Regions from separate parts of the Homo sapiens genome. Here all the other regions are linked to region 1. Evidence: promoter capture Hi-C in 16 types of primary human blood cells and fetal thymus (Javierre and others, 2016). All regions are on one chromosome and are shown on one strand. Each heading gives the region's core, a stretch centred on a gene start or on the middle of the fragment in contact. The rest is flanking DNA. Distances are from core to core; before and after follow the strand shown.

Region 1 (5,787 bases), core at 130-2,629:
CATAATATCTTAGCGAAACCTGGCTCTCCTAATCTAGGACTTATATATAATTAAGAATTTAAATATATTTAACCTTTAGATCCATTCCTGTTCACTGTGACTTTTAATTTTTTTAAAAAATACATCAGAATTGTCAAATGTTATAGTAAAATTAACAAAAGACAATGTGCTAAAAGTATGGATGAATATATGTGGAAACAAAGAGACATATATTCAACCAATTAGAGTAGAATCAATAAGCATTTTACAAATACCAATAATGTTCTGCAATTCTGATATAACTTTCATAAAGATAATGTTTTATAATCTCTCTGTTCTTGCTATGAATCTCAAGGATTTTTTTTTTAAAAAACGTGACTCTCATTCAACTTTTCTGGCTTTCAATGTCTGTTGCCATAAAATTGAGTCATCTACATACCACTTTGAAATTGTTCTTTTGTTACCACTTCGGACAGGTGCAATGATAAACGATGCTCTTGAAATAATAATAACCCAAATGTTCACTTTTTTTGCCAGAAAAAGTGTATATATTCCTTCACAGACTATACAAAATGTGTATCACATTTAAACAGCTCTAACATAAAGAAAAAATAGGAAGGGCACATACAGCTCACTTTCAGGTTTGTATTATATTTCCAAACCTTTTAGATGTTAGTATCATGAAAGCAAGCAAAATACAGCTTGTGGGAATACTCTTATATTGGAATATTTAATGATAACACCATAAGTTGGATAATCTGTCTCTTCTGAACAGCAGTAGGACATGTTTAGGTACTGTTAAATAAATATTTCAGAAAGTGTCTTTGAACATGCATGTTCCTATATTGAAGAAGCATGTTAGAGATACAAGATTATTCAAAAACTATTTCCTCTATCTTTCATATCATGTATGCATTATCTCTACTTGAAATCATATTTGTTGTGTCCCTTTCCGAACTAAAATATCGAGGTACCTCAAAGGGTGGTTTTCCTAAAGGACAAGTCTAAGCTAAGTTTTCAGAGGGCAGGACTCTGTCCAAGGTACTGAAGTTGGCGTTATCCGGGACTCCCTGTCTGCTGGCGCCACGGCGCTCAAATTGGCTCCTTTAGGTCCCCTTCTAAATTTTAGGAGAGGCTTCCCAGACCCTGGAAAGGTGTTTCTCTGAGTTCCTTGAACCTAGAGTCCTCCGTGCACCCCGCTACGAGCCCCGCGCTGAGTCTCGGCCCCGCACTTGATTGCGCAGCCTCACCCTCCGCAGGGCGGAGCTGCCAGGGACCCACTCTGTCCTTTGGGCCCCACTCACCTCCTGACTCGGCGGCTCTACTCCCAGATGGCACAAGGGCTTCCCTCCGCACTCACCCGCCTGGCCCCTTCCGGGTTCCCTCGAACGCGTGGAGAGAGTTCCCTCGAGTACGCGGAGAGGAAACGCTCAGGCTGCTCCCGAGCGAGTGGCTGTCCCCAGCTTCCGCGTCCTGGAGGCTACCGTGCCTCTACTTAAGCAGTGGGAGTGCTCGGCGCCTCTCCAAGTCTACGTCAAAGCTCCTGGAAACTGCCGCCACCTCTCGCCTCCAAGTCCGTCTCCCGCACCCTCCTCTTCTCTCCCTCCCCGGAGAATTTCGGTTCAGGAAACCAGCGGGCTTGGCCACACACACTCTCATTGGCCTTGACCCGCACCCACTCTGCACCTGCCGGAATTGAGCCTCTAATGCGGCTGGGCTTCCCGCTCCCACCTCGCGGGTGCGTGCCGATGCGGCGGGAACTGCAAAGTTAGGGCCCAGCTCCGCGCTGGTCCAGGGGACAGCAGGGGTTCCCGCTCACCACACGGGCCTCGTCCGAGAATAAAGGGGTGTGAGGGAAGACTGTGGACTCTTGGGGTCGGAGGAGGGACATGAGCTGCCTCTCGACACTCAGCAAGGGCTCAGAGGAAATAAGGCGCCTCCTCGAGATATTCCAGGTGTGAATTTCTCCTGCCTGTAGCCCTGGGCCGAAAGGAGAAAAACACCCCCGAGGGCAGAGATGAGGATAGGGACTTCGCCCTGCTGGAAGCTCCCCCTGACTGTTGCCAGGACACCCCGTTGTTTCCAGACCCTGGCCTGGGTCACTCAGGAGACTGGGTTGCTGCTGGCATCGCTTTGGTCAGCACCTCAACCCCCCAACAACCCCGCTCCAGATTTCACAGCAGGGTCCCAGCTTTCCAAGAAAAAAAAAGCGCCTGGGATTCCCTTTGATTCTCACCTCACAGCTACTTACTATCCCAGTCCCAGATTAGAGCCCTGTCACTGCTCCAGTGCTCCTCTGAGCATAAGTGCCCATCTTAACTGAAACACACCCAGCCAAGGGGCCTGAGGCAAAGGTCTTCCCTCTGCAAGTGTTTCCACGTTTTGCCCCTTTCCTGAAAATTCCTTCAGCCCCTGAAAACCACTTGTAGTCTCCACTAACTGAAGGCTTTTGTGCCAGCTCAATAGTATCCATGGTTACCTTCCGAGGGGCACAAGGCTTTGTAGTAAGATTTGCCGAAGCCACAGAGAACCAGCCCCTTCCCCAAGGTACCATTAAATAGGAGGTCTGAAGAGGAGTTCTGGGGGGCTCTGAGCTATTCCTCCTGCTCAGAAATGATGGAGTGTACTTCAGTTTCTCCATGTGTGAGCTGTATCTAATGTCTGCTTCTATTCACCCCATAGGGCTGTGGAAAAAGATCAAGGGTGAAGTCTTGGACTTGCTTCCTGAACTTTGAGGAGCTCATGCCTTTGGAGAAAACATACTTCAGGACATCATCCAGGAGAAGTTCCCCAACCTAACAAGATAGGGCAACATTTAAATTCAGGAAATCCAGACAACTCCAGTAAGATACTCCATGACAAGATCAACCCCAAGACACATAATCGTCAGATCGAGAAAGCATTTGGAGGTGACTCGTGAATGTCTGGAAAAACGAGTTGTACAGGTATCCTAAAGCCAAAGGGTCAGGAGTGCAGTTTCAGGGGTAGAAGACAGTACAAGCAAAGGCAGGAAGGGAGTGCTCATCGCAGTTCATGCTTCTAGGGAGCGAAGTCAAAGAAAGGACTGTAGAGAGGGAAGGCCGAACAGAACAGAGGTAAAGATGTGTCCCCTGGTTTGGGACGTGTCAATAGTTACATTACTGTTGAAAACATTCATATATAAACATGCAGTGCTTACTTTATTTTCAAGTGCCTATGTGTTAGGCACTATTTTACATGCTGTGTATACAGAAGGAACAAAACAAAGTCCTTGTACGCATGTAGCTTACATGCTAGTTGAGTCTGGAGTGATGGAAAAAAATTATTTATATTTTAATTTTAAAATTATATCTATACACATATATAGTGTATATGTATACGTGTGCACACACATAATATATGATTTATGCTTCTAGTTTCTATGTTGAATGGTGAGTTTACAGCTATCTATCAAAAACAAACACACAACTAGCTAATTAAATACACAAGTAGTGCCATGCATGAGTCAATAAAGTTTATCCGTCATTCTGAAGCCCAAGAAAAAATATATGAGTAAAGTGTCAGATGTGATAAGAAAAACAAAGGGTCAGCCAGGTGCAGTGGTTCATGCCTGTAATCCCAGCAGTTTGGGAGGCCGAGACAGGTGGATCACCTGAGGTTGGGAGTTCAAGACCAGCCTGGCCAACATGGTAAAACCCCATCTGTACTAAAAAAAATACAAATACATACACAGAATTAGCTTGGTGTGGTGGCACGCATTTGTACTCCCAGAAACTCAGGAAGCTAAGGCACGAGAATCGCTTGAATCCAGCAGGCGGAGGTTGCACTGAGCTGAGATCACGCCACTGCACTACAGCCTGGATTACAAAGCGAGTCTCTGTGAAAAAAACAAAGGGTCATCAACAAAAAGTAAAGCAGGGAAAAGGATGATGGAGAAGAGCTATTTTATATAGAATACTAAGAGAAGCCCTTCCTGATAAGAAGATATTTGAGCAAAGACCCAAAAAAGTGAGAGGGTGAGTCATGCATAGTAAAAGAATGCTTCAGGCTGGGGGTGGGAAAACAAGTCTGATGGCTTTGGAACAAGTGTGGTGTGAGAAGGGTGTTTTTGAGGCATAGTGGCAGGACATGAGGTCAGAGAAGTGACCAAAAATCCATGTTGGTTGCTCAGTAGAGAACAGACCAGAGAGGAGCAAGGGACGAGGAGGGAGCTCAGTTAGGAGCTGTTGCAATCAAGGTGGGATAAGATGGCGGAATAGATAAGGGTGGCAGCAGTGGAGAGGGTGAAAGTGGTCAGATTCTGAATATATTTTGATGGTAGAAGGGATAAGACTCATCGATGGACTGGATATAAGGTCCAACAGAGAGAGAGAAGTTGAAGATGACACCAACTTTTGGGGAATAAGTAAATGGAAATTTGAATTTCCATCAGCTGAAAGGAGAAATGATTTGAGGAATAGGTTTAGGAAAGGAAAATAAGAATCTAGTTTTAAACATGTTGAGTGTGAGATGACTGACATCCAAATGGAAATTCCAAGTAGGTAGGGAAGAAGGGGGAACTTACGATAAATATTTGGGATACAGTGCTCAGGAAAGAGGTCCAGATTTGGGATTTCATCAACATGTAGGCAATATTTTGAGCCATCAGAGAAAAGTGTGGAAAGTGGCTACAACAGTAGGGATACAACTTGGGATAGAACCTGGAAAATGCCAGTATTGGAGTCACTAAGAAACAAAGAGATAGGAGGAATCAGGAGAGTGTGCTGCCTTGGAAGCCAGTTAGGTAGAGCTTTTCACATAAAGAAGAAATCAACCATATCACACAAACTCAGCAAAGGGGGTCAATAAAATGAAGATGAAAAAATTCCATTGGATCTAAAAAATAGCAGGTCACCAAGAAACTTGTTAAGGGCAATTTCAACTAAATGTTAAGGGAGGAGAAGTTGCGGTAGGCTGAAGCAGACATGGAAGGTGAGAAAATGAAGACAGTGCCTGTGGAGTATTCTCCATGAAGTTCAAATAAGAGGGAGAAAGACTGGAGTGGAAAGTTAGGAGTTGGGCCTTGGCCATGTTTACAGGCTGAGGGAGAGAAACTCATAGAGAGAGAGGGGTTGCAGATTAGGAGAGAAGGATGACTAGTAACCTCAGAAGAAACAATAAGCAACAGGGGTAAGAGGATAAGGAGGAGCCAGACTACAACAGAAGGGCAGAACACTTGCCCTTGAAAACAGAGGGAGAAAGGGAGGTTCTCTGTTGATGTGGATATGTCTACAGGTAGTGTGGTGGGTAGGGGGCGCAGAAGTTAAGAGACACGCGACCAATGGTCTTATTTTCTCAATGAAGTAAGATGCACAGTGATCCACAAAAAAAGTGAATGAGGGTAGGTGTTAAGTAGGAAGCTTAAAAAGAGCAGAAAAGCTGTGATTAATCTTTGAAGGAAAGAAGAGAGAGGAGAGAGGAGATAGACTAAAGAACAGTACTCAAATCCCAGGTAAAGTTTGCATCAATTTGTCATAAACATTTTGCATGCTTGTATGGCTTTTATGAGGTAAAATAACATAATAGTGAAGACTATCATGCTATGGATCCCTCACTTGTTATATGTCATTGAGTCTTAGAGGCAATGCACATTTAACACTGCTGAAATCAGGATATATCTGTCAACTGATGGCACCTTGTAATTAGAATTGCAGCATTTTCTTTTAGTTTTCTTTTTTTTTTAATAATGAGATGTCTACAATTTGATATAATCAAGTGCTTTTGATTTGATATAATGCTTTGGGCAAGTTAGTTAATCTTTGTGAAACAGATTTCTTGCCTGTAAAATGG
Region 2 (5,636 bases), core at 1,156-3,655, 1.5 Mb before region 1:
GAAACCCCATCTCTACTAAAATACAAAAAAATTAGCCGGGCGCAGTGGCAGGCACCTGTAATCCCAGCTACTTGGGAGGCTGAGGCAGGAGAATTGCTTGAACCCAGGAGACAGAGTTTGCAGTGAGCTGAGATCACACCACTGGAATCCAGCCTGGGTGACAGAGCGAGACTCCATCTCAAAAAATAATAAATAAATAAAAATTAAAAAAAATTAAATCTAGACAATAAGGTTTGGTAATTGATTCCTAGAGTCAGGCCAACCTGCGTTTGAATTCTTTTTTTCTCACTAACCAACCAGGAGGCCAGGGGCTAGTGAGACAGCCTCTTTGAGCCTTATTACACAAGATGGTTGACATTGTTGCTATGAAAGACAAATAAGAAATGCATGTTAAGTATTTAGAACAGGACCTAGCATATAATAAATACTCAATAGACTGGGTGCACTGGCTGATGCCTGTAATCTGAGCACTTTGGGAGGCAAGGTAGGAGTATTGTTTGAGACTGGGAGTTCAAGACCAACCTGGGCAACATAGTAAGACCTCACCTCTACAAAAATAAATAAATATATACATTTTTTAAGTGCTCACTATGTGTTTCTGTGGCTGTTGTTATATCTATTGTATTGTATTCTACATTGTATATTTTATTATTGTCTAGTTAATATATTATTATCCTTTTCATCAGTTAGAATTGAGTTTTTATTTAGATTCAAAGCACCACAAATACCCACTGCAATCTTAAAAACAACAATTCATATCCCTGGTTTTGATACCCATAGTTGTAAGAAAAGCAAGAGAAAACCGGCTGGGTAGAGCGGCTCACACCTGTAATCCTAGAACTTTGGAATGCCGAAGCAGGAGTATTGCTTGAGGGCAGGAGCTCAAGGCCAGCCTGGGCAACATGTTGAGACTCTATCTCTACAATCTTTAAAAAGTTAACTGGGCCGGGCGCGGTGGCTCACGCCTGTAATCCCAGCACTTTGGGAGGCCGAGGCGGGTGGATCACGAGGTCAGGAGATCGAGACCATCCTGGCTAACAAGGTGAAACCCCGTCTCTACTAAAAATACAAAAAATTAGCCGGGCGCGGTGGCGGGCGCCTGTAGTCCCAGCTACTCGGGAGGCTGAGGCAGGAGAATGGCGTGAACCCGGGAAGCAGAGCTTGCAGTGAGCCGAGATTGCGCCACTGCAGTCCGCAGTCCGGCCTGGGCGACAGAGCGAGACTCCGCCTCAAAAAAAAAAAAAAAAAAAAAAAAAAAAAAAAAAAAAAAAAAAAAAAGTTAACTGGGCGGCCAGGCCTGTGGCTCACACCTGTAATCCCAGCACTTTGGGAGGCCAAGGTGGGCAGATCAGGAGGTCAGCAGATCAAGACCATCCTGGCTAAAACGGGGAAACCCAGTCTCTACTAAAAATACAAAAAATTAGCCAGGTGTGGTGGCGGGCACCTGTAGTCCCAGCTACTCGGGAGGCTGAGGCAGGAGAATGGCGTGAATTCAGGAGGCGGAGCTTGCAGTGAGCTGAGATGGCGCCACTGCACTCCAGCCTGGGCGACAGAGCGAGACTCTGTCTCAAAAAAAAAAAAAAAAAAAGTTAACCGGGCATGGTGTTGAGTGCCTGTAATCCCACCTACTCAGGAGGCTGAGGCAGGAAGATCACTTGAGCACAGGGGGTGGAGGTTGCAGTGAGCTATGATGAAACCACTGCACTCCAGTCTGGGTGACAGAGCGAGACCCTGCGAAAGGAAGGAAGGAAGGAAGGAAGGAAGGAAGGGAGGGAGGGAGGGAGGGACTTAGCTGTCATTATTTTTATCCTGCCTAAGGAAAACAAGCCAGAAAATATGGACTGGAAATTCAGTGAGTCTTCTCCCAAGAATATTTGCTAATTGCATTTTCGAATGAGCCTCATTCTTTCTCTCACTTCTTTTCAAGTCTTGCAAGTTTTTAACTTAGAAATTTTTCAGGCTTAGAAACTTAGATGGCTCACGCCTGTAATACCAGCACATTGGGAGGTCAAGGTGGGAGGATTGATTGAGCCTGGGTATTTGAGACAAACCTGGTCAAAAAAGTGAGACCTCACTTCTAAAAAATAATTTTTAATTAATTAATTAATTTAAATCGATCAATTAAATTTGTTAATTAAATTTTTCCACCTTATATTTTCAAAAATAATGAATTTTTTTAACATTTTCAATAGCCCAACCTAAATTTATAATTAAAGATAAAGTGGACTGTTTCAAGAAGTCTAAGTGAACAGAAATCTCCCTTGCTAAAGATAAGGGTTCAAAGCTTTACATTTAATCCTCAAAATAAATTAGATCCAATCTTGCTTTGAGAGCACCCAGCAGATGAGCAACAGCTGTTATGTTTGACATACATTTGACCTTCATTTCTGTCTTCTAGCAAAATAGGAAAGTAAGATTAGCTTATATGAGATCAGAATAGAAATAACTGAACTGAGATCACTGTTATAATATGCTGGGCAGGACTCTTTCAGTTGCAAGTGACTAAAACTAACTCACACAAGCTTAAACAAAAAGAGGATGTATTGCTCCACATAATCAAAAGCCTTCAGGCATGGCTGGATGCAGGGGCTCAGGTGAGATCGTCAGGAGCTGGTCTCTGTAGCCCTCTCCTTCCTCCACTCTGCTTTCCTCTATGTTGGTTTTATTCTCAGGCAGGCTCTTTCCATATGGTGGCTGTGGTAGTTAATTTTAGGTGTCAACTTGTCTGGGTTAAGAAACCCAAATAGCTGGGAATACATTATTTCTGGTATATCTGTGAGGGTATTTCCAGAAGAAATTGGCTTTTAAATCAGTAGAGTAAGGAAGACCCATCCTCACCCAATGTGGGTGGGCACCATCTGATTAGTTAAGGGTCCAAACAGAACCAGAAGGCAGAGGAAAGCTGAATTTGCTCTCTCTTCTGCAACTGCGACACCATCTTCTCCTGCCCTTGGACATCAGAACTCCAGGTTCTCTGGCCTTTGGACTCCAGGATTTGCACCAGCAGTCCCTCAGTTTCTCTGGACTTTGGTCTCAGACCCAGAGTTACACCAATGGCTCTCTTGGTTCTCAGACCTTTGGACTTGGACTGAGCCATGCTACCAGCTTCCCTGGTTCTCTACCTTGCAGGTAGCCTGTCAGGGGACTCCTAAGCCTCCATAATCACAGGAGTCAATTCCCATAATAAATCCTCTTTCATCTATCTGTCTATCTATCTCTCTATCCATCCATCCCATTGGCTCTGTTTCTCTGAAGAACCCTGACTAATTCAGTGGTCCTCAACTGTTTCAGCCTTAGAATACTCTAAATGGCTGAAGCAAACCCTGGAGTTGGGAGATAGAGTCAATGAGACTTAAGCCACATGGAATGAGAATGAGGAAGAGGTCACATGTAGGTCAAACATAACAGCTGTTGCTTATCTTTTACTGGGTGTTCTCTAAGCAAAGTTGGATCTAAAGTATTTTGGGGATTAAATGCAAAGCATTGAACACTTATCTTTAGCAAGAGAGATTTCTGTTCATTTAGACTTCTTGAAGCAGTCTACTTTATCTTCAATTATAAATTTAGGTTGGGCTATTGAAAATGTTCACAAAACTTCATTACTTTTGAAAATATAAGCTGGAAAAATTTCTTTAATTAACAAATTTAATTGATTGAAATTAATTAATTAATTTTTATTTATATTTTTATTGAGATGAGGTCTGTTTTCTAAGGAAAAGAGGAGTACTTGAAGGTAGAATGGATTCCAAGAAGAAAAATCAAAACAAAACAAGTGCTCCACCAACATTGCACATGTATACATATGTAACAAACCTGCATGTTGTTCACGTGTACCCTAGAACTTAAAGTATAATAAGAAGAAGAAGAAGAAAGAAAAAAAAAAACAAGTGCTCATCACCTGAGTATGCTCACTACAAAGTCCAAAGAAAATTGATAACTTGCTTCATGCCACAGCATGTAGCAGACACTCCTGCTAACAAACAGGCAAACTAGTCACTGGCTCCCTCATTCACTAGGAACACAGACACTGACAGTGGAGTCTATGGAGAGCATCTCCGATTTCCCAGTTAGCACCCTATCACATGCAGCTTTATGAAGTAGAACATGTTTCTTCTTCCTTGAAATTTAGACTGTTTTAAGCCTGGCATGGTGGCTCATGCCTGTAATCCCAGCACTTTGGGAGGCCGAGGCGGGTGGATCACCTGAGGTCAGGAGTTCGAGACCAGCCTGGCCAACATAGTGAAACCCTGTCTCTACCAAAAATACAAAAGTCAGCTGGGCATGGTGGTGGGTGCCTGTAGTCCCAGCTACTGGGAAGGCTGAGGCAGGAGAGTTGCTTGAATCTGGGAGGCGGAGGTTGCAGTGAGCCAAGACTGTGCCATTGCACTCCAGCCTGGGTGACAAGAGCAAAACTCCATCTCAAATAAATAAATAAATAAATAAATAAATAAATTTAGACTGTTTTAAAAAATATGACTGAAAAATTTCAGGTTAGATAAGCACTTCCTGTTGGTAAAGGTGAGTAGACCCTGGAATGGAATTATTATGTAAAGTTTTAAGATTTTTCTATCATGAGCTATGTAGAAAATAGGGCCAATAAACTTACTGATCTCTTAAAGGCAAGCCTTAGAGTAATCTACAAATAAATAAATAAATTTAGACTGTTTAAAAAAAAGTGTACTGAAAAATTTCAGGTTAGATAAGCACTTCCTGTTGGTAAAGGTAAGTAGACCCTGGAATGGAATTATTGTGTAAAGTTTTAAGATTTTTCTATCATGAGCTGTGTAGAAAATAGGGCCAATGAACTTACTGATCTCTTAAAGGCAAGCCTTAGAGTTATCTACAAATTATCCCATGCCTTTGAATGGCCAGGTCTCTTCAGGGTTCTCCAGAGAACTAGAACCAACAACATATGTGTATATAAGAGGAGATTTGTAGTGAGGATTGGCTCATGTGATTATGAAGGCTGAGAAGTCCCACAATTTGCTGTTTGTAAACTGGAGAACCAGAAAACTGGTGATGCAATTCCACTGGAACTCTGAAGTCCAAGTCTGAAGGCCTGAGAAACAGGAGAGCTAATGGTGTATGCTCCAGTTCAGACCCAAAGGCCTGAAAACCAAGAGCACTGATGTCTGATGGCAGAGAAAGACAGATGTCCCAGCTCAAACAGAGTGAATTCACCCTCCTCTACTTTTTTGACCTATTTGGGCCCTAAAAGGATAAAATTATCCATAAAATGATAAAATTATTGTATTGATGAACTTAATTTTCTTTACCGAGTCTACTGATTCAAATGTTAATCTCTTCCCAAAACACTTTCACAGACATACCCAGAAATGTTTTACCAGATATTTCAGCATCCTTTAGCCCAGTCAAGTTGACGCGTAAAATTAAGCAACCCACTACTATATACCTAATGTGGTCCTTCAATCTATTATCTCATTTTGAAAACCAGACTTTGAACTTCTGTAAAGTTCTGTACTGCTCTGAAATCAAGGCTTTGTAAAGCTCCCACTTTTAATGAGCAGTAGGATGATGCAGTGAGAAGTTAGATTTGGAATCACAAGCTTGGAAGCCAAGTCTCAAATGTGCTTCCTGTTATTTGCATGATTTTATGCAGCTCTGAGCCTCAGTGT
Region 3 (5,343 bases), core at 1,667-4,166, 1.5 Mb before region 1:
AAGCATAATACATAACTGCTAAAAGGCCAAAAACTGATTTGCTTTGGGTAGGATTGGTTAAGAGAAGTATAACTTTTTAATGTAAAAATAATTTCAAACTTAGAGAAAATTTGCAAGAATAATATACAAAGAACCCACGTATTCCTTTTATACAGTCACGAATGGTTAATGTTTTGTTCTGTTAGCTTTATTATATTCTGTCTTTGTCTCTCTGTATATAGATAAAGATATATAATTTTTTTCTGAGCCATTAGAAGTTATGTATATATACTCTACCACTTTACTCTATGTACCTCTGTGTGTATTTCTTAAGAACAAAGTAATTCTCTTAAATAACCATAGAATAGTTATCAACTTCAGAATATCTATTATTGGTACTTTTATTTAATGTACTCTCTATACACCAATTTTGTCAATTGACCCAATAATGTTCTTTTTAAGCATTTTTTTCCTTCTGTATAAGATCCAGTATGGGATCACATATTGCATTTAGTTGGGAAATATAACTCAATTTCCAAATATATCAGAATAATTCCATGAAAATTCCTTTGTAATTACATTAATCTAATCTATCTTTGTCAGTAAGTTAGTATCTGATATTTGACCTTAACTTCCTATAGACTTAAAGTAATGTCTGTGTCCATGTTAAATTGATGTGCTTGATACCAAAATCATCTTTTATTCTGCAGGTCACTTAGAAAATTGGAATTGTACCATGGAACTTCATAATAGATTCTCTGGGAGCAGACGAGAAGCATCATCTTAAAACCACAGCTCTTGCCAGTACATTTTTCTTTACAACTGTTTTTGGTACAACTGCACTGAAGTGTTATTTTTGATGTTGAGCTTTCTTCTTTTAGAAGCATATTGCATGGCTACATTTTCTTAAAAAAAAAAACTGTGACCTTATGCTACTTCATTGTGACTGGAAGACTGCTGGAGAATTCAGAAAGTATATAGTATTTCTGTGTTAGAGCAAGCTGGCTTTGTAGCACATTTTACAAATGTGTGGCATTGAATATTGCACAGTGATGGAGTGGGAGGCAGATTTCCAAAGAGTTAATCCAAAATAAAATTAATCTGTCATTGATTGCCTTTACTGTGTTCTCATATGAAAAGAATGTTTAAATCATTTCAATAAAGCATTAAAAAAATGAATACAGGCTTTCTCTCAGTAGACTATAATGACTACTAGGAGGGAAGATGTTCTGGTCTTTTAGTACCTTTCCAAAATGCTGATTAGGCACATGGCTTAGCCTATCAATGTATGTAATAACAACTTGATCACATGAATGTCAGTACACATAATACATTTCTTAAGGTTTTGGTGTGCCATCTGTCTACAGAACAGTTTTCATCAGCATGTACAAAAACACAGATGGAGATTGTAGACTTTTTCTGAAAATGGTGGTATATTCTCATGTGGGGCTGGGAGACCAATGCAGCGTTTTCCACACTGGGTTTGATTATGGTTCTAAGATTTACCAGTAAGCCTGCAGCTAATTAGGGGGAGGCAAAGGAGGGAATCAGCAACTTGCGGTCCCTGCATGCACTGCTAGGTGTTTAGCTTCATAGGACTTCACCCAGTTTTCTTTTGCCTAGCTCTGCTAGTTATGAGGAAACATTTTTTTCTCGGTAGCTACTGCTGTCTCTCCTTTTACCACCTGCGCGTTTGCCTTACATGCTGCCTGAGGATTTTCACAAATGACATTGTGAATGTGTTGCTAGCTGTGGTCAAATACTCTTTTAGAATCCCTCGGTGGGTCTAAAGCACAAAGGTGTTTGATTTCATCTTCCTACATACATGTGGAATGACAAAAGACAGTCTGGGGTTTGGAGTCTTCCTCCACACTTGCACATCTGAGGAGTACTTCTAAATCAATAAGTTGGCAGCAATGGAGAAGGCTGTTAGGCAGTCACTTGGGTTCAATGAAACAGTGATACTATTGAAAGGAAAAACACAGGCAAATCATCACGCTAATTTTAAAAAATAAAAGCAATGCTAGAAGGAGGGTGGCAGGGGGAGGGGAGTGAAATGTTCCTGTGTATTTTTCTGCTCTTCGAGCCTCTCACAGATTCTCAGGGTTTCTTTTTATTTTTAGCTCAAGAAGTGTTTAATCTCTTGATTAAATATACCTGCTTCCAGTATTTACTGCTTTTCACCAGCACCTCAAAGTCATACATTTAAAGATTGATTTTATTATTTTTTCATCTCATGAAATTGTTATATTTATAATCGAATTTTTTTTTCTGTCTGGCTGAAGATGGCAGATATAATAGAAAATTAAGAAAACAGCAGCAAAAAACAAAATATAACAACATAAAGCTAAGATCTATAATCTTGCCATTCATTGATTACCATGATTGATATGTTGGTATAGTACACACTTCTAATCTTATGTTTTCCCTACATAAATATAGGCAAAATATTTTTATCAAAACCCTATCATACTGATGAAGTCACTTAAGAAATATAATTGTCTTTCAATTAGAGGATTTTCTGTCTGGGATTTTTTTTGTTGCCTCTTCACACTTCAAGTCCTTCTGGAACGCATGTGTTCTCATAAGTGACCTCAGATGGAACCACCAACCTCCATCTCAGCAGTTTCCATAGGCAAACATTGCAGAATGCTGGGCATGTAATGCATTTCTAGTGAGCTGCATAGGATGAGAAGTGTGCCCTTTGTCTCCAAGGTCATAATGGCTCTGCTGACTTTAATACCTTTCACTGGAGCTAGTGAGGACAACTCGAAAATGCCAGAAAGAGAGAGAGCCCACTGCCCCATGATCTCAAATGAAAAAAAAAAGAGAATACAGAAATCCCCCTACGCACCACCCCCAGGTCCCTTTTGTGTTGTTTTTGCCAACACAGCAGCTTCCCTGCTATATATACCAGTTGCCCCTTTGTCCCTATCATACTAGATGCTAATCACCCTCTGTCAACAACCATGGGGAAGGTGAGCCTGTGGAGGTGCTGTGCCATGTCTATTGGGGGTCTGTGGTGTGTGGGGATGTTCCTTCCAGCTGACTGTCTACTGTCACCTTATTTCTACCTCAGATCACCTTCTACGAGGACCGAGACTTTCAGGGTCGCTGCTACAATTGCATCAGTGACTGCCCCAACCTGCGGGTCTACTTCAGCCGCTGCAACTCCATCCGAGTAGACAGCGGCTGCTGGATGCTCTATGAGCGTCCCAATTACCAGGGCCACCAGTACTTCCTGCGCCGAGGCAAGTACCCCGACTATCAGCACTGGATGGGCCTCAGCGACTCGGTCCAATCCTGCCGTATAATTCCTCATGTGAGTCTTGCTTCAACTTGACTGATGTGAAAGCATCAATGATCCATGGCCATCAATTCCTGTTTATAAAAGTCAGTTTGTTCCAACACAGGATGAGTGTTCACAGTAAGAATAGCAAGGCCTGACCCTCAAACATATATAAAAAAAAAAAGTAACAATAATCTCTATTTTTCTTACTTAAGGACATCATTTTAGGGCATGGGAAATCACAACATAGCCTTTAAATTAAACTTGGTAACATCTAGGTGATCCCTAATTTCTACATAAAAGTCACCTTATTCAGTAGTAAAAAAAAAAAAAAAGAAAGAAAGAAAAAAAAGAAAAGTCTATCTAGTTTATCTAGATAATTTTTTTTTTTGAGACAGAACTTCGCTTTCGCTCTTGTTGCCTAGGCTGGAGTGCAATGGCACAATCTCAGCTCACCACAACCCCTGCCTCCCAGGTTCAAGCGATTCTCCCGCCTCAGCCTCCCTTGTAGCTGGGATTACAGGCATGTGCCACCATGCCCAGCTAATTTTGTATTTTTAGTAGAGACAGAGTTTCTCCATGTTGGTCAGGCTGGTCTCGAACTCCCGACCTCGGCCTCCCAAAGTGCTAGGATTATAGGAATGAGCCACTGCGCCCGGCCATGATAATTATTTTTTAATGATGAAAAGTTAACAGACTATGAGATAACAATATAGGTATAATGTATTCTGACTGCATTGGAAATTTTTTTCACTACATTCTAGGACTTACTAGAACCTAGGAAAATATGTTTCAACTTGTGTGGATTTATAATTTCCAGGAGTCATTATCAACTAGTTTCTTATAAATATCAGAGACACACAATTGATTAGGATTTCATAGAACATGGTCCTCATCAAAATGCTGCTTAATCTTTTTTAATCACGTGCAGCATGTATTTACACTTTCTGTTGGCACCAAATTATGTAGTGTGACAAGGAGATTCAAGAATTGAAATCACGGCCAGGCTCAGTGGCTCACGCCCGTAATCCTAGCACTTTGGGAGGCTGAGCTGGGCAGATCACTTGAGGTCAGGAGTTCAAGACCAGCTTGGCCAACATGGTGAAACCCTGTCTCTACCAAAATACAAAACATTAGCCAGGCATGGTGGTGCATGCCTGTAGTCCTAGCTAAGCAGGAGGCTAAGACAGGAGAATTGCTTGAACCCAGGAGTCGGAGGTTGCAGTGAGCCGAGATCATGCCACTGCACTCCAGCCTGGTGACAGAGCGAGACTTCGTCTAAAAAAAAATAAAAAAATAAAAAAACAAATTTAGGCCAGAAAAATTTGCAGATGCGCAAAGAGGTATAAATAAAATAGGCATTTCTCTGGGGCAAGAAACCCAAATGGCACAAGTGACTTGGCAAAATGTCACTTGAAAATACATGTGGACTCAGTGTAAATATAAATCACTGTAAATTATAAGTGCAAAAAGTGACTCAAAAACAAGCTTGATAAGACTCAATTATATGGAGTCAAAATGGAAATGAGAGTTGAAATCCTCACTACAGACTCACTGACTACAATTGTATTGATGATTGCTTACAAAGAACACACTTTTATTCCCTGTATTTTAATGTTTGTTTCTTCCACAACATCTCCAGTTCATTGATCAGGTCAGATTCGTTTTAATATTTTCCCTAATTTGTTAGAATAACAACATTGAAAGTGGGTTCAGGGGAGAAACACTTTATCAACTGGTTTAAAAAACCATGTTTCAAACCAGGTGCAATCCCAACATTTGTAATCCCAACATTTTGGGAGGCCAAGGTGAGAGAATCACTTGAACCCAGGGATTCAAGACCAGCCTGGGCAATATAGTGAGACTCCCTCTCTACAAAAAAATTTTTAAAAATAAATTAGCCGGGTGTCACAGTGCACACCTGTGATCCCAGCTACTTGGGGGGCTGAGGTGGGAGGATTACTTAAGCCCAGGAGGTGAAAGTTGCAGTGAGCAGTGATCCTGCCACTGTACTCCAGCCTGGGCAACACAGCAAGACCTTTATCTCAAAAATAAAATAAAAGCCATGCTTCATG
Region 4 (5,891 bases), core at 3,230-5,729, 1.4 Mb before region 1:
CCTTATGTTTTTTTAAAATTATTTTATTGTTTTATAGGTCCTGTGAGATTTATGCTCTAAGAAGGTTCTATTTCGGTGTATTTCTTTTTTCTTTTTTTATTTTGTTATGGGGACTCGCTGTGTCACCCAGGCTGGAATGCAGTGGTGCACTCTCGGCTCACTGCAACTTCTGCCTCCCAGGTTCAAGCAATTCTCATGACTCAGCCTCCAGAGTATCTGGGACTACAGGTGTGTGCCACCACACCTGGCTAATTTTTTGTGGTTTTAGTAGAGACAGGGTTTCACTGTGTTAGCCAGGATGGTCTTGATCTCCTGAACTCGTGATCTGCCCACCTTGGTCTCCCAAACTGCTGGGATTACAGGCTTGAGCCACCATGCTCGGCCTATTTTGGTGTATTTTGAGGCTTTGCTTCAAGATTTAGCACTCCTTTTAGCGGTGCTTGTAGTGCTGGCTTGGTAGTGCAAATTCTCTCAGCATTTGTTTGCCTGAAAAAGACTGTATCTTTTCTTTATTTATGAAGCTTAGTTTTGCTGGATACAAATTTCTTGGCTGATAATTGTTTTGTTTAAGGAGGCTAAAGATAGGACCCCAATCCTTTCTAGGTTGCAAGGTGTCTGCTGAGAAATCTGCTATTAATCTGATAGATATTCTTTTATACATTACCTGAAGCTTTTGCCTTATGGCTCTTAAGCTTCTTTCCTTCATCTTGATTTTAGATAACGTGATAACTATGTGCCTAGGGGATGATCTTTTTGCGATGAATTTCCCAGATGTTCTTTGAGCTTCTTGTATTTGGATGGCTAGATCTCTAGCAAGCCTGGAAAAGTTTTCCTCAATTATTCTCTCAAATGTTTTCCAGACTTTTAGATTTCTCTTCTTCCTCAGGAACGCCAGTTATTCTTAGTTTTGGTCATTTAACATAATCCCAAACTTCTTGGAGACTTCGTTCATTTTTTTAATTTGTTTTTCTTTGTCTTTCTCAGATTGGGCTAATTCGAAAGCCTTGTCTTCAAGCTCTTAAGTTCTTTCTTCTACTTGTTCTATTCTATTGTTGAGACTTTCCAGTGTATTTTGCAATTCTCTAAGTGTGTCCTTCATCTCCAGGAGTTGTGATTGTTTCTTATTTATGCTATCTATTTCTCTGGAGATTTTTCCTTCCATACCCTGTAACATTTTTAAAATGTCTTTAAGTTGGTATTTACCTTTCTCTGGTGCCTCCCTGAGTAGCTTAATAATCGACCTTCTGAATTTTTTTGCTGGCCATTTAGAGATTTCTTCTTGGTTTGGATTGTGAACCTAGAAAACCTGAGACAGCTCTCAGTTAATTTAGAAAGTTTATTTTGCCAAGGTTGAGGACGGACCATGACACTGCCTCAGGGAGTTCTGATGACATGCCCAAGGTGGTCGGGGGCACAGCTTGGTTTTATCCATTTTAGGGAGACAGAAGACAACAATCAATATATGTAAGAAGTACATTGGTTCTATCTGGAAAGGCGGGACAACTTGAAGCAAAGACAGGAAGATTCAAAGCAGGGAGGGATCTTCCAGGTCACAGTTAGGTGAAACACAAACAGTGCATTCTTTTGAGTTTCTGATTAGCCTTTCCAAAGAAGGCAATCAGATATGCATCTATCTCAATGAGCAGAGGGATAACTTTGAATAGAATGGAAGGCAGATTTGCCCTAAGCAATTTCCAGCTAGTTTTTCCTAGTGATTTTGGGGCCCAAGATATTTTCCTTTCACAGGATCCATTGCTGGTGAGCTAGTGTGATCTTTTGGGGGTGTTAAAGTGCCTTGTTTTATCATATTACCAGAATTGTTTTTCTGGTTCCTTCTCATTTGGGTAGACTATGTCAGAGGGAAGATCTGGGGCTCAAGGGCTGCTGTTCAGATTCTTTTGTCCCATAGGGTGCTCCCTTGCTGTGGGGCTCTCCCCTTTCCCCTTGAGATAGGACTTCCTGAGAACCAGACTGCAGTGATTGTTATTTCTCTTCTGGGTCTAGCCACCCAGTGGAGCTACTGGGCTCTGGGCTGGTACTGAGGAGGGTCTGCAAAGAGTCCTGTGATGTGCTCCATCTTCAGATCTCTCAGCTGTGGATACCAGCACCTGCTCCAGTGGAGGTAGCAGAGGAGTGAAGCGGACTCTGTAAGAGTACTTGGTTGTAGTTTTGTTTAGCGTGCCGGTTTTCTCAAATGCTGGTTGTACTGACAGTAAAGCTATCATGTGGACAGACTTAGGACCTCTGGTTAGCCAGGATGTTACAGGCAGTGGAGTTAACCATTGTTTTCTCCTTTCTTGGGGCAGGGTTATTCTTTGATGAGTTGCTGTAACAGTTTGTGTTGGTTGGCCTCCAGCTAGGAGGTGGCGCTTTCAAGACAACTTCAGACAACTTCAGCTGCGGTAGTATGGGGGGACGCAAGCTTGCCCTAGGGTCTCCTGGATGAGCCTTCAGGTTTCTCAGGTGATGGGCGGGGCCCTAGAACTTCCATGAGTTGTACGTCTTTTGTTTTTGGCTACCAGGGCAGGTGGAGAAAGACCATCTATCTGGTGGGGGTAGAGTCAGGTGGGTCTGAGCTCAGACTCTCCTTGGGCGGGGCTTGCCGCAGCCACCTTGGGGGAGGGGGTGTGGTTCTCAGGCCATTGGAGTAGGTTCCCAGTAGGACTATGGCTGCCTCTGCTGTCATACAGGTCGCCAGGGAAGTTGCGGAAAACTGGCAGTGACGGGCCTCACCCAGCTCCCACGCAGACTGAAAGGCCAGTCTCACTCTCCCAGTGCTCCTCGACAGCACCGAGTTTATATCTAGGTGAGTTTATTTGCCAGTGAGCAGGACTGGGAACTCCCTCCACCGCCACCATACAAGCCTCGCGCCTAATAAAGCAAGCAGGGCTTTCAGGCCTTCCCCTCCTCGCTGCGGCTTCTGTGCTCCTATCTGGACTTCCTGTTTGCCCCCGACCCCAGATTCTGCTCTGGAAAATTCATGCTTGAAATCATTATAAAGTTCAGCTGGAAGTTTCCTTCTCCCTGTGGGCTTTCCCTAATTCCACTGGCAGCCCGCTCCCCACAAGGGCCCCTGTGAGATAAAGTCAGAAATGGGTTCTCTGAGCTTCCCTGGGGACCGGGAGTGCCTACAGGGCTCTTCCTGCTGCTGCTTCTACTTTTATATTTTGCTCAGCTCTCTAAATTCGCCTCAGCTCTAGGTAAGGTTAAATCCTTCTCCCATGATATGGATTTTCAGGCTCCCCAGTGAGGATGTGTGTTTGGAAAGAGACTTTCCCCCTCTCACACTCTGGGCACTCACGGTTTTTCAGCTGTGTCTTGGAGTTTGCAGCGGCAAACTCTTCTTTCAAAGGGTCTGTGAATTCTTTTGGTTTTCCTGGTATGTTCTTGCAGTAGTTCTTGGAGCAAAAGTTCACAATGTGAGTCTCCTCATGCTGCAAGTCAGCATGAGAGCTGCAAGTCAGTCCTGTCCCCCATCTGGCAGCTATTTTTATTATGCCTTCTCTTGCCATTCTTGAGAATGTCCAGTGATTGTCTTCCAAGGAAAAACTTTGTATGCTATATTTTCTACCATGCTATTTCATCATCAAATCCTAAATTATCTTTCTAGGTGTGATGAATGAGACAAAAATGCCTGGGATACTTTCCCATATCACTCTGAAGCATCAGCATCCGAAAAAGAAGCAGATGGCACACTCAATATGGATAAATTGAGGATATTTTAATAAAGGGTCTATCTATAATGGTGTAAGCCAGATTAGGGAAACTAGAAAAGAGAAAGTGTAGCACCCTGGAGCTAGCAGTGGGGGAAGCCATTACTTCCTCCCAACTCCCTAACCTAAGGCTCAAGGAAAAAGAGCAACTGTTGCAACCCAGAGAGCTTAGCCATCTAGGGAGGTCTTCTGAAAAGAGCAGTGGCCTTCAGAAGAAGGATGCAGCCAACCTGTGGAGACACAGCAATAGGGAAACAGGTGAATAAATATCCTGGCCTCACTCTTCTCCCACTCTCAGATCCCTTAATGGTATTCACCCTTGGCCAAACTCAAACCACGGGCAAACAAAGCAGTTGAGCCCCCCATAATCATGCTGTTCTTTGTTCTGTTAGATCTTGGAAAGAGTGACATCCCTCCTCCATTCTAGCTTGTCACTTTTTAGGACTTTTTTTCTCAGCCACACAAGGATGACTCAAACACCCCTAAAGTGCAATGTTTTAGCGGGGAAGAATTTTTGATGGAAGTCTAGAAGTACTGAGTGTACAAGTACCTAAATGCTTACTTCACTCAAACAACCTCTGGACCAAAGCATCTCTCTTTCCTAGTTTAGAAACTAGTGATTAGCAAGTGATTAGTAATTGACATCCAGTTTAAAAATAAAAGTTGACTTGACTGATTTCATCATTGAAACTAGTGCTAAATCCTTTGGACTCGTTTAAATATTGGATTCATAACACAACAAACATTTATTCAAATTCTACTATGGCTCAGGGCCTCCATGCATGCTATGGCTTAAGGACACAGGCACATAAGACATCAAATAGCATATTTCTTCACTCAACAAGTGTTTCTTGAGAGCTTTCTATGTGCCAAGTACTACGTGAGATTTATAGTCTAGAGGGAGGGAGGCAGAACAGTAATAACGGTAAATGAGATAATTATAATGCAAGGTGATAGTATTTTAATAGTTATGTGAGTCTATAGAGTTATAAAGGCAAAAGAGAAAAACCCTCATGGCTTGTTATGCGATGAAGCTAATGCTGAACAAATACCACATATTCCTGAGTATGGTCTTCCTGAAGACCAAATTCTTCCTTTTTTTTTTTTTTAAGATGGAGTCTCGCTCTGTCGCCCAGGCTGGAGTGCAGTGGCGCGATCTCGGCTCACTGCAAGCTCCGCCTCCCGGGTTCACGCCATTCTCCTGCCTCAGCCTCCCGAGTAGCTGGGACAGGCGCCCGCCACCACGCCCGGCTAATTTTTTGTATTTTTAGTAGAGACGGGGTTTCATCGTGTTAGCCAGGATGGTCTCGATTTCCTGACCTCGTGATCCACCCGCCTTGGCCTCCCAAAGTGCTGGGATTACACCAAATTCTTTATATACATAATTTTAGAAAATATTTAAAAATGAGTCCTTCTAGAACAACTGTATACTACTAATGCTTTGTATTTATACCACTCAAAAATGTTTGCTGGGCACAGCAGCATGGACCTCTGGTCCCAGCTTCTCAGGATGCAGAGGTGGGAGGATCTCTTGAGCTCAGGAGTTCAAGACTATAGCACACTATAATTGTGTCTGTGAGTAGCCACTACACTCCAGCCTAGGCAACATAGCAAGACCCTGCCCTTTCAAAATAAATTTTTAAATAAAAAAATTTTTAAATCTTCAGAAGGCATTGTAATGGTTAAATATCATTCATTCATTAACAAACAATTATTCAGCACTTATTATAAGCTAGCAATTTACCCCAAGTCATATGGTTCTGAAATAACAGAACCCAAGTCTGAACCCAGCCTGATTCCAAATCCACGCTAGTTCCTCCACAGTAGAGAGAAGAAGAGGAAAATTTGTGAAGGAGAAAAATATTCCTATAAATGTGAGGAACTGAGCATTTTTGTGGAAGAGGAATGAAATCAGAGTGTATCAAGTCAGGACAATAGAAGCCACTCTTTCAATCCAGGGGAATTTAATTCAGGAAATAGATTATAAAAGTGATAGAAGAGCTGAGATGCCAAACGGGGTGGTGACGTAACCCGGAGATTAGCGACAGCAAGAATCAGCTAACATCCGTGGGCTGGAGGGACAGTAGGAAGAGATGCTATTCTCAGCCTAAAAGCTAGAATTGTCTGGCTGGAAATAGAACCATTATAGAGGCTCCCTTGCAGGGGTCTGGACCATGG

The links. The method cuts DNA at HindIII sites, captures the fragments that hold promoters and counts their contacts. A CHiCAGO score of 5 or more calls a contact.
Region 2: a contact is called between a fragment that was not itself captured here and the fragment with the promoter of FAM237A in region 1, in 6 of 17 cell types (total B cells, naive B cells, non-activated CD4 T cells and 3 more). The highest score is 10.7, in total B cells.
Region 3: a contact is called between the fragment with the promoter of CRYGA here and the fragment with the promoter of FAM237A in region 1, in 5 of 17 cell types (non-activated CD4 T cells, total CD4 T cells, total B cells and 2 more). The highest score is 8.1, in non-activated CD4 T cells.
Region 4: a fragment that was not itself captured here is called in contact with the fragment with the promoter of FAM237A in region 1 in 4 of 17 cell types (total B cells, naive CD8 T cells, naive B cells and 1 more); the score reaches 9.0 in total B cells.

What each region holds. Positions count from the first base shown.
Region 1 is chr2:206,638,079-206,643,865 of GRCh38, reverse strand. FAM237A (family with sequence similarity 237 member A) reads right to left here and starts at 1,379. Exons shown (of 3, transcript NM_001102659.3): 1 at 1,284-1,379. RefSeq lists enhancers at 1,028-1,607, 1,608-2,189. The HindIII fragment of the contact is 6,542 bases long and covers 1-5,359 here.
Region 2 is chr2:208,090,037-208,095,672 of GRCh38, reverse strand. No RefSeq gene overlaps it. Among named protein-coding and RNA genes, the nearest start is that of CRYGD, 32 kb to the left of the region's middle. The HindIII fragment of the contact is 238 bases long and covers 2,287-2,524 here.
Region 3 is chr2:208,161,162-208,166,504 of GRCh38, reverse strand. CRYGA (crystallin gamma A) reads left to right here and starts at 2,916. Exons shown (of 3, transcript NM_014617.4): 1 at 2,916-2,957; 2 at 3,059-3,301. The coding sequence starts at 2,949. It overlaps C2orf80 (chromosome 2 open reading frame 80), which reads left to right. Exons shown (of 9, transcript NM_001099334.3): 9 at 690-1,158. The coding sequence ends at 698. The HindIII fragment of the contact is 8,974 bases long and covers 1-4,758 here.
Region 4 is chr2:208,075,008-208,080,898 of GRCh38, reverse strand. LOC105373854 (a long non-coding RNA gene) reads right to left here. Exons shown (of 4, transcript XR_923815.3): 4 at 3,701-3,943. Among named protein-coding and RNA genes, the nearest start is that of CRYGD, 47 kb to the left of the region's middle. The HindIII fragment of the contact is 4,110 bases long and covers 2,425-5,891 here.